Regions from separate parts of the Homo sapiens genome. Here region 1 is linked to region 2. The links are contacts of gene promoters, found by promoter capture Hi-C in blood cells and fetal thymus (Javierre and others, 2016). All regions are on one chromosome and are shown on one strand. Each heading gives the region's core, a stretch centred on a gene start or on the middle of the fragment in contact. The rest is flanking DNA. Distances are from core to core; before and after follow the strand shown. Region 1 holds the start of DYM (dymeclin). Region 2 holds the start of IER3IP1 (immediate early response 3 interacting protein 1).

Region 1 (4,687 bases), core at 891-3,390, 2.3 Mb after region 2:
TATTAATTTTTATGTGTGATAATGGTATTCTGGGCCTATTAAAAAGAGCAGGCCAGGTGCAGTGGCTCACCCCTGTAATCCCAGCACTTTCAGAGGCTGAGGTGGGTGAAATGCCTGAACTCAGGAGTTCGTGACCAGCCTGAGCAACATGATGAGACCCCCGTCTCTACTAAAAATACAAAAAATTAGCCAGGCATGGTAGCACGTGCCTGTAATCCCAGCTACTCAGGAGGCTGAGGCAGGAGAATTGCTTGAACCCAGGAGGCAGACGTTGCCGTGAGCCGGGATCACGCCACTGTACTCCAGCCTGAATGACAGAGCGAGACTCTGCCTCCCACCACCACCAACAAAAAAAAGCAATTCAATCTTCTACAGATATATATTGAAATATTTACAGATGAAATTGAATGTCTATGATTTGCTTTAAAATAATTGTGAGTGGGGATAGGAATGCATAGGGACATAGATGAAATTAAATTGGCATGAGTTAACTGCTGAAGCTGGGTAATGGGTACATGGGAGTACCCTTTATTATTTCACTGTGTGAACTTTTCTATGGTTAAAAGGTGCAAAAACATAAAAACTCCTTGACCTATATGTCGTAACAACACAGACTTCTTAATAGCTGAATCTCCTTCCTATTAACATTGCCCCAACTCAGTTCTCTGCCATTTAATCCACTTGCGACTGATAGTTTCATCAATTATTCCAACTCATTTTGCCCTATGTACTCAGTTTATGAGCTTAAGGCAGACACCTAACCTCTAAAAGACTAGTTCTTCATTTACAGAATGGGAATATTCATACTTGTCCGGTCTATCTCCAAGTTGCTGAGAGGATTATCTAAAATAAAACTTCAAAGCAGGATAATCACTCCAGAAATCCATATATTCATAAATTTCATCCTCTGCAACAACCATTCACCCATTCCTATAGATTCTCTTCCCTTCCACCTCGTTCTTCTCTTGAGCCCTCAACTCATCAGCCTAAGCACCTGAGTTCCTCTGGTGGACGCTACATTCCTCTCCACGGCCTCCACCCTCCAGGTTTTCATCCTTCAGCACATCACCCTTGCTCTACACACCCCTCTCTCCAACTTCCCCTCTCCTCTTTCAAGGAACTCACTCCATCTGTGCCCCCTAATCAGTCTATCCTGGGTACCCGCTTTGCTGGCCGATTACAATCATCCCATCACTTCTCTACCCCTGTTCAGTAGAGAACAGCTTTATCCAATCAGCTTTACCACACCAATACCCTCAAACCCCACTACTGCCCCCAGTTCACAAACACCCACCCTTTCACTTTTCAGTCAAAACACAATTGCTCAGGCAAATCCACGGCGACTGAAAGTAGATCAATAGTGTAGGGGAGAGAAGGAGGAGTGACTGCTAATGGGTACGAGCTTCTTTGGGGCGGGGGGGGCGGTGATTAAAAATGCTCTGGAGTTAAGGGTGGTGATGGCTGCTCAACCCTGTGAATATACTAAAAACCACTGAGTTGTACTTTTAAAGGGTTAATTTTCTGATATGTTAGTTATACCTCGATAAACTATGAATGTAAAAAGAAGAAAGAAAAACCCAACAGCTATTGCTCACCCTGCCCATCACACGCCCATTTGTCAGACCAACACCGCCCCATCTCCGGAAGCACCGACTTGGCCTTCGGTATCCCCCAACTCCCAACAGCGGACTCGGACAGAGGTCCGTCCGCTGTCAGCACAGCCCCTCCGGGTGGCCCAGGCGCCCGCGGGCAGGGAAGGGAGGGTCCCTTCGCCGCCGCCCCGGGGCGCTGGCCGGGTTGCGGAGGGTGGCCCCTGACCCCCTCTGACAGGAGGCCGGGGACAGCCAGGCTTTCGGGCCCGGCCGCGCTGAGGGGGGCGGCGCTACAGCCCACCTGTCTCAGCCGGCTGGGGGATCTGCTCCAGCTCCACGGACCCGCGGACGGATGGGAGGGTGGCAGAGGGGTCAGGAGAAGTCGCTGTCGCCGCCGCAGCCCAGGTGGCGCACACCGGCTCAGGCCTCCATGTTTCCACGTCTCAGCGGGTACAGATCCGGCTCCGGTCCGGCCTGCAGCTCGGCCCCGGCTCGGCTCCAGCCCGGGCCGCGTCGGTGCGGAGGCCAGGAGGCGGCGAGAGAAGAGGGAAGCGACCGAGAACGCGGCTAGGGACCAGACCCCCAGGCGCGCGCGCCAGCCAGGTGGTCACGTGGCACGCGGCGCGCGCGGGCTTCTGGAAACTGTAGTCCTTTGGGTGTTATTCGTGCCTCCGCCCTCCTAGTACCTCCTGGGCTACCGCAAAGCCACGTGGCGAAATCGAGAAGCGCAAAAACAGCCGTGCGCGGTGGCTCACGCCTGTAATCCCAGCACTTTAGGAGGCCGAGGTGGACGGATCACGAGGTCAGGAGATCGAGACCATCCTGGCCAGCATGGTGAAACCCCGTCTCCACTAAAAATACAAAAAGTAGCTGTTTGAGACAGGATAATCGTTTGAACCCGAGAGGCGGAGATTGCAGTGAGTCAAAAAGTAGCTGTCTGAGGCAGGAGAATCGTTTGAACCCGAGAGGCGGAGATTGCAGTGAGTCGAGATCGGGCCACTGCACTCCAGCCTTGCGACAGAGCTCGACTCTTCTCAAAAAAAAAAAAAGAGAGAGAGAGAGAAGCGCAAAAACCTCACCTGCCGGGTGCTAGAGTCAACCTCACCTGCCAGGTGCTAGAGTCCTCGCTCATGCTACACCGCTCGTTCTGGCGGCTTAACCTTATTAAGGCCTCTGTTAATTGCAGCTGAATAACCATCCCAAAGTCAAGCAATATTGTGTGGGATTCTGGAGAATTGAGAAATAGCAAAATAATTTTTGATGGAGGCAGCTGGCAGGGCTAGCCCTGCCTGCAAAGTTGTCGGAAAGGACAGGTCCCACGGGAAAGAGTAGCAATATGAGATAGTGCCAAAACTATGGAATTTGAAGTCAAATGAGCTGAGGTTTCCACACTGACGTCTTTGAGCAATTACTTCACCTCTCTCAGCCAGTTTCCTCACCTAAAATATATGCATGATGATGATTCTGCCATTACAGGAAATGTTGACATGACTGTAGTAATAACAATTCACATTATGGATTATTTTCTATTTGCCATGCACTATTATTTCGCAAAATGACCCTATGGAACAGATAGCACCGTTATTCCCATTATATAGTCAATATGTGCCAGTGTACTCTGTAAAGTACTATACAAATATTAGGTATTCTTTTCTAGCATAGACTGCCAGTAAATTCACTGAGCTTGCAGAATTATGACAGGAAAACATATTAAAACCCAAAGTAGACTGGGCCCTGTGGCTTATGCCTGTAATCCCAATACTTTGGGAGGCTAAGGTGGGAGGATCACTTGAGCCCAGGAGTTCGGAAGGACCAGCCTGAGCAACATAGCGATACACTGTCTCAACAAAAAATACAAAAATTAGCTGGGAGTGGTTGGCACACCCTCGGTCCCGGCTACTCGGGAGGCTGATGTGGGAAAATCGCTTGAGCCCGGGAGGTTGAGGCTTCAGGGAGCCATAATCTCACCATTGCACTCTACCCTGGGCAACAGAACGAGACACTGTCTCAAAAAAAAAAAAAAACCCCAAACTACCTAACTAAAAAGCCATAGACACTACTATGCAGTCATTGTAAAGAATGCTATGGATGCATATTTATTTGAAAACATTTTCATGATACACTGAGTGGAAACATATATAGTATCAAATTTTCATAAGTGAATTATATTAGGTTGGTGCAAAACTAATTGTGGTTTTGCCACTTAATATAATATTTATATTAATATATTAAATGATATATTAATATAACATATGTAATATATGTTTACTATAATATTTATAATACCTATGTATATGTGCTGTTGGAAAAAAGACAAATAATATTAACAATATTGCAACTTTGGGTAATGAGATCCTGTGTGGTTAAAATTAGTTTTTCCCTATGTTTTCTAATTTTTCTGCAAGGAATATGAAGTACATGTACAATTTTATTTTAAAATTACAGCAAAAAGAGACTCAGGGCTGGGCGTGGTGACTCATGCCTGTGATCCCAACACTTTGGGAGGCCGAAGCAGGCAGATCACCTGAGGTCAGCAGTTTGAGACCAGCCTGCCCATCATGGCGAAACCCCGTCTCTACGAAAAATACAAAATTAGCCAGGCATGCGCCTGTAGCCCCAACTACTCAGGAGGCTGATGCAGGAGAATCACTTGAACCCAGACGGTGGAGGTTGCCACGAGCCGAGATCATACCCCTGTACTCCAGCCTGGGTGACAGAGCCAGACTCTGTCTCAAAAAAATAAAAAATAAAAAAAGAGACTCAGGCATGAAAACCTAACTCAAAATATTTTTTAATATTGCCTGGCACACAGTCTACTTTCCCCAGACTGACTCAGCAACAGTTGTGAGCATCTCCTCAAAACTGGCTTTATAGACCTAAGAAGCAAAATATTTTATTTCAAGGGGATCCTATTAGTGAAATTTTACATCGTCTCCCTTTGGTCATTTTTGGATGACTTGAAATAAACAGTCTTGCCTGTGTTCCTAGGCAAATGTTATAATGTTGCTAGGCAAATATCATAAATCGGAAGATAAGATTAGGAATATTTTTTACTACGTAGGAAGTGTTGAGTTAGAGTAGCAGTCCTTATGCAC
Region 2 (5,219 bases), core at 675-3,174:
GTGGGCAGATCACGAGGTCAGGAGTTCGAGACCAGCCTGACCAACATGGTGAAACCCCATTTCTACTACAAATACAAAAATTAGCCAGGCTTGGTGGTGCGTGCCTGTAATCCCAGCCATTCGGGAAGCTGAGGCAGGAGAATCGCTTGAACCTGGGAGGCGGAGGATGCAGTGAACCGAGATTGCGCCACTGCACTCCAGCCGGGGGGACAGGGTGAGACTCCGTCTCAAAAAAAAAAAAAAATGGGTCTTCCCACATCCACTGCTTTCCCTTCCAATCTTTCCTCCGTATTGTAGCCTCAAGGATCTTGCAAATAACACAAATCTGGTCATGTCGCTGTCTTAAGACCCTCTTCTCACCTGCCTCAGTTTTCACACCAGGTCTACACTGCTTAAAGCTCTCCTCACCCTTCCAGCTCCTCCCAACCCTTCACCTTCACCGAGTTAATGTTTACTCATGTATCAGATTTCAGGTTAGACACGCTTCCTCCAAGAAGCTTTCGCAGATACACAAGTTAGTATCTGCCCGTACTTCTCTTACATAATACTCTCTATACTTGTTATTGTCATTTGTTTAGTTTTTATTTAGATTAACTTCCATCAGAAGGGCAGAGTAGCTGCTGTAACTTCAGTTACTATAAATGGGCCTGGCACATACTTTGCACTCAATAAATATCTTCTGAAGTAAATGAAATGAATCAATCTTGCTCCTGGGTTTACGTTTCAGTGATTCAAACGGGCATACTTGGTACACAACGTGAGGTCCTGGAAGGTATAACTTGTGTTTTCATTTTTGAATTTCTAAATTCTAGCAGAGTTTTTGGCACACTCTATGCACCCAATAAGCTATCTGAATAAACTTTTCTTGGAACATGAGTGTCTGAATGTCCTGATAACTCCAACACGTTCCCTTCCTGTAATTCCTAAAGCCCAGGAACACTTATTGCCTTCCATCAGTTAGTGAACTACTGATGCTCCAAAATGGGTCACGCCTCCTTCCCCTCCACACCCAACTCGTTTTGTTTTGTTTGTTTTGTTTTGTTAGACGGAGTCTCACTCTATTGCCCAGGCTGGAGTGCAATGGCGCAATCTCGGCTCACTGCAACCTCTGCCTCCCAGGTTTAAGTGATTCTCCTGCCTCAGCCTCCCGCCCGGCTAATTTTTGTATTTCCACCACCACGTCCGGCTAATCTTTGTATTTTTAGTAGAGACGGGGTTTTACCATGTTGGCCAGGCTGGTCCCAAACTCCTGACATCATGATCCGCCGGCCTCGGCCTGCCAAAGTGCTGGGATTACAGGCGGGAGCCACCGCGCCCGGCCCCACACCCCCAACTCTTAGCCCGAAACTCAGACCCCGGGTTTTCGACTATTAAAAGTAGTCACAGGACCGCGACACTGCACTTCAGCCTGGGCAAAAGAGCGAGACTCCCCCTCAAAAAAAAAAGTAGTCACAGAAAACTGAATTAAATTACTGACCTGAAGTAATCGCAAGCAGAGGCGTCCCTGACTGACTTCTATATCCCTCCACCCCAACCCCCTGGGCCCTGCACAGCGGGTGTCTGTTGAATATTCTCCCGGCTGTTGAGCCCAAACCTGATGAGAGGAAAGGCTCGGCTTCCACTCCAAGCCGAGCCTTCCGCTGTTCTTCTGTCCCGGCCCTTGGTGTCCCCTCACGCGGCCCCATTAGGTTACGCGCCCCCGGGGACTCCGCCGCCGCCCCAGCCCGCGCCCCGCGGTCCCACTCACTGTTCTTGAGGAATCGCTCCTCGTGCAGCACTGCGATGGCGTTGACGCAGAGCAGGGCTGCCTGCAGCAGTGAGTACAGGGTAAAGGCCATGGCCGTCCGAGGCCGCCCCGAAGTCCAAGCGATTTCTCTCCCGCCGCCGCAAGGGACGTGGCGCCTCCACGGCCGGCGCCTTCCTACGGAAGCCGATGGGGCCCAAAACGAACTCTCCGGGAAGCCCCGCCTCCATCTGGCTAAGAACCGCCCCTCGCTGAAGACTGCAAGTCCTGCCGCTTGTCTAGACCGGTGATGTGCAATCAATGCTCTGATGTGGCCAGTGCTGCAGGTGCAAAATACACACCGGATTTCACACACTTGGAACTGGAACAAGGATGAAGAATATCCCAATAATTTTTTTTTTTTTGAGATGGAGTCTGGCCCTGTCGCCCAAACTGGAGTGCAGTGGCACGATCTCGGCTCACTGCAAGCTCCGACTCCCGGGTTCACGCCATTCTCCTGCCTCAGCCTCCCAAGTAGCTGGGACTACAGGTGCCCGCCACCACGCCCGGCTAATTTTTTGTATTTTTAGTAGAGACGGGGTTTCACCGTGTTAGCCAGGATGGTCTCAATCTCCTGACCTCGTGATTCCCCCCTCCTCGGCCTCCCAATAATTTTTAAATGTTGATAACATGTTGAAATGAAAATATTTTGAGGCCGGGCGCAGTGGCTCACGCCTGTAATTCTAGCACTTTGGGAAACCGAGGCGGGCAAATCACCTAAGGTCAAGAGTTCGAGACCAGTCTGGCCAACATGGCAAAACCCTGTCTCTACTGAAAATACAAAAATTAGCTGGGTGTGATGGTGGGCTCCTGTAATCCCAGCTACTCAGGAGGCTGAGAGAAGAGAATCACTTGAACCCGGGAGGCAGAGACTGCAGTGAGCCGAGATCCAGCCTGGGTGACAGAGCAAGAGGAAAGAAGGAAGGAAGGGAGGAAGGTTTCTTGTTTATTTTTAATTATTTTATTTAATGTGGTTATGAAGATACTGTAAATGACATGTGACGCTTGCATTATATTTCTATTGCTCAGTACTGCACTTGATGCTCCCAGGAGATACAGGAGATACTAATATTCCCATTTCAGATTTCAGAATGCTAAAACAAAATAACTGTTTTAAAATTACTCAGTGAGAAACATCCCCTCCTTGACCAAACTCCAACCAAGATCCTCTGAGCCTCTTCTTTTTTTTTTTCCCCCCCCAGGAACAGGGTCTTGCTCTGTTGCCCAGGCTGGAGTGCAGTGGCACCATCATAGCTCAATGCAGCCTTCAGCTCCTGGCTCGAGCAGTCCTCCTGCCTTAGCCTCCTGCTTAGCTGTATGTGATGGTTAAGACTGAGTGTCAACTTGATTGGATTGAAGGATGCAAAGTATTGATCCTGGGTGTGTCTGTGAGGGTGTTGCCAAAGGAGATTAACATTTGAGTCAGTGGGCTGGGAAAGACAGGTCCACTCTTAATCCAAGTGGGCACCATCTAATCAGCTGCTGGAGTGGCCAGGATATAAAGCAGGCAAAAAACCAATGAAAAGGGTATGCCAAGACCAGCTCGGTTGGGGAGACCCTAACCCAGCGGTGCTAGAGGAATTAAAGACACACACAGAGGTGTGAAGTGGGAAATCAGGGGTCTTATAGCCTTCAGAGCTGAGATCCCCGAACAAAGATTTACCCACGTATTTATTAACAGCAAACCAGTCATTAGCATTGTTTCTATAGATGTTAAATTAACTAAAAGTATCCCTTATGGGAAATGAAGGGATGGGCCGAATTAATTGCAGCAGGAACACATCCTTAAGACACAGATCTCTCAGGCTTTTGTTTGTGGCTTAAGAATGCCTTTAAGCAGTTTTCCAACCTGGGTGGGCCAGGTATTCCTTGCCCTCATTCCCGTAAACCCACAACCTTCCAGCTTGGGCGTTAGGGCCATTATGGACATGTTATAGTGCTGCAGAGATTTTATTTATGGCCAGTTTTGGGGCTAGTTTATGGCCAGACTGTTGGGGGCTTGCTCTCAACAAGGGTAGACTGGCTTAGCCTCCCAGCCTACATCTTTCTCCCATGCTGGATGCTTCCTACCCTTGAACGTTGGACTTCAAGTTCTTCAGCTTTGGGACTCAGACTGGCTTCCTCAGCTTGCAGACGGCTTATTGTGGGATCTTGTGATCGTGTGAGTTAATAGTACCGAATAAGCTCCCTCTTTGTATATATATCTCCTATTAGTTCTGTCCCTCTAGAGAATACTGACTAATACACTCTATTACAGGAATGGGTCATCCCGCCAGGCTGAGCCCTCTTCTTGACAACACCTCAATATTGGCCACTTAAAAACTACAGATTCTCAGCCTGGGGAACATGGCAAGACCCTGTCTCTACCAAAAATACAAAAAAAAAAAAAAAATGCCTCAGCTTAGTGGTATACACCTGTGGTCCCAGCTACTAAGGAGGCTGAGGTGGGAGGATCACTTGCACCCAGGGAACGGAGGTTGCAGTGAGCTGAGATTGAGCCATTGCACTCCAGCTTGGGTGACAGAACAAGACCCTGTCTAAAAAACAAAACAGGCTGGGCGCGGTGGCTCACACCTGTAATCCCAGCACTTTGGAAGGCCGAGGCGGGTGGATCACAAGGTCAGGAGATCTAGACCATCCTGGCTAACACAATGAAACCCCATCTCTATTTTTTAAAAATACAAATAAATTAGCCGGGCATGGTGGCGGGCACCTATATTCCCAGCTACCCGGGAGGCTGAGGCTGGAGAACGGCATGAACCCGGGAGTCGGAGCTTGCAGTGAGCCGAGATCACGCCACTGCACTCCAGCCTGGGTTACAGAGTGAGATTCCATCTCAAAAAAAAAAAAAAAAAAAAAAAAAAAACACTACAGATTCTCCACACAAATGATATGCATATTGTGTATCTCCTTTACCCAACACTAAAACACTTGAATACTAACATAGTTTCTTTTTTTAATTGTATTTATTTATTTTAAGACAAAGTCTTGCTTTGTCACCAGGCTGGAGTGCAGTGGCAGTGGTGCCATCTCAGCTCACTGCAATCTCCGCCTCCTGGGTTCAAGCGATTCTTCTGCCTCAGCCTTCTGAGTAGCTGGGACTATAAGCGCGTGCCACTACGCCCAGCTAATTTTTTGTATTTTTAGTAGAGACAGGGTTTCACCGTGTTAGCCAGGATGGTCTTGATCTCCTGACTTCGTGATTCCATCCACCTCAGCCTCCCACAGTGCTGGGATTACAGGCGTGAGCCGCTGTGTTTGGCTGAATACTAACATAGTTTCTAACAGCTCGCTGTTGCATTCAGTTGCTACTGTTGCTACTTGCCTGAAAAAGCTTCAGGCTGCCAAAAAATTTACTGTTTGTTTTAGCCAACACCTTACAATAGGCCCCAACCTTCCTTTCTTAGAGCGTTTACTCAAGAGGGCTTACAATTGT

What was found. Contacts are between HindIII fragments. The CHiCAGO score rates a contact against its expected background, and 5 or more counts as called.
Region 1: the fragment with the promoter of DYM here is called in contact with the fragment with the promoter of IER3IP1 in region 2 in 2 of 17 cell types (total B cells and naive CD8 T cells); the score reaches 5.6 in total B cells.

What each region holds. Positions count from the first base shown.
Region 1 is chr18:49,458,505-49,463,191 of GRCh38, forward strand. DYM (dymeclin) reads right to left here and starts at 2,141. Exons shown (of 18, transcript NM_001353214.3): 1 at 1,894-2,141. RefSeq lists a silencer at 1,540-2,119. The HindIII fragment of the contact is 8,649 bases long and covers 1-4,687 here.
Region 2 is chr18:47,174,440-47,179,658 of GRCh38, forward strand. IER3IP1 (immediate early response 3 interacting protein 1) reads right to left here and starts at 1,925. Exons shown (of 3, transcript NM_016097.5): 1 at 1,748-1,925. The coding sequence starts at 1,838. RefSeq lists enhancers at 1,834-1,953, 1,964-2,093. The HindIII fragment of the contact is 4,620 bases long and covers 496-5,115 here.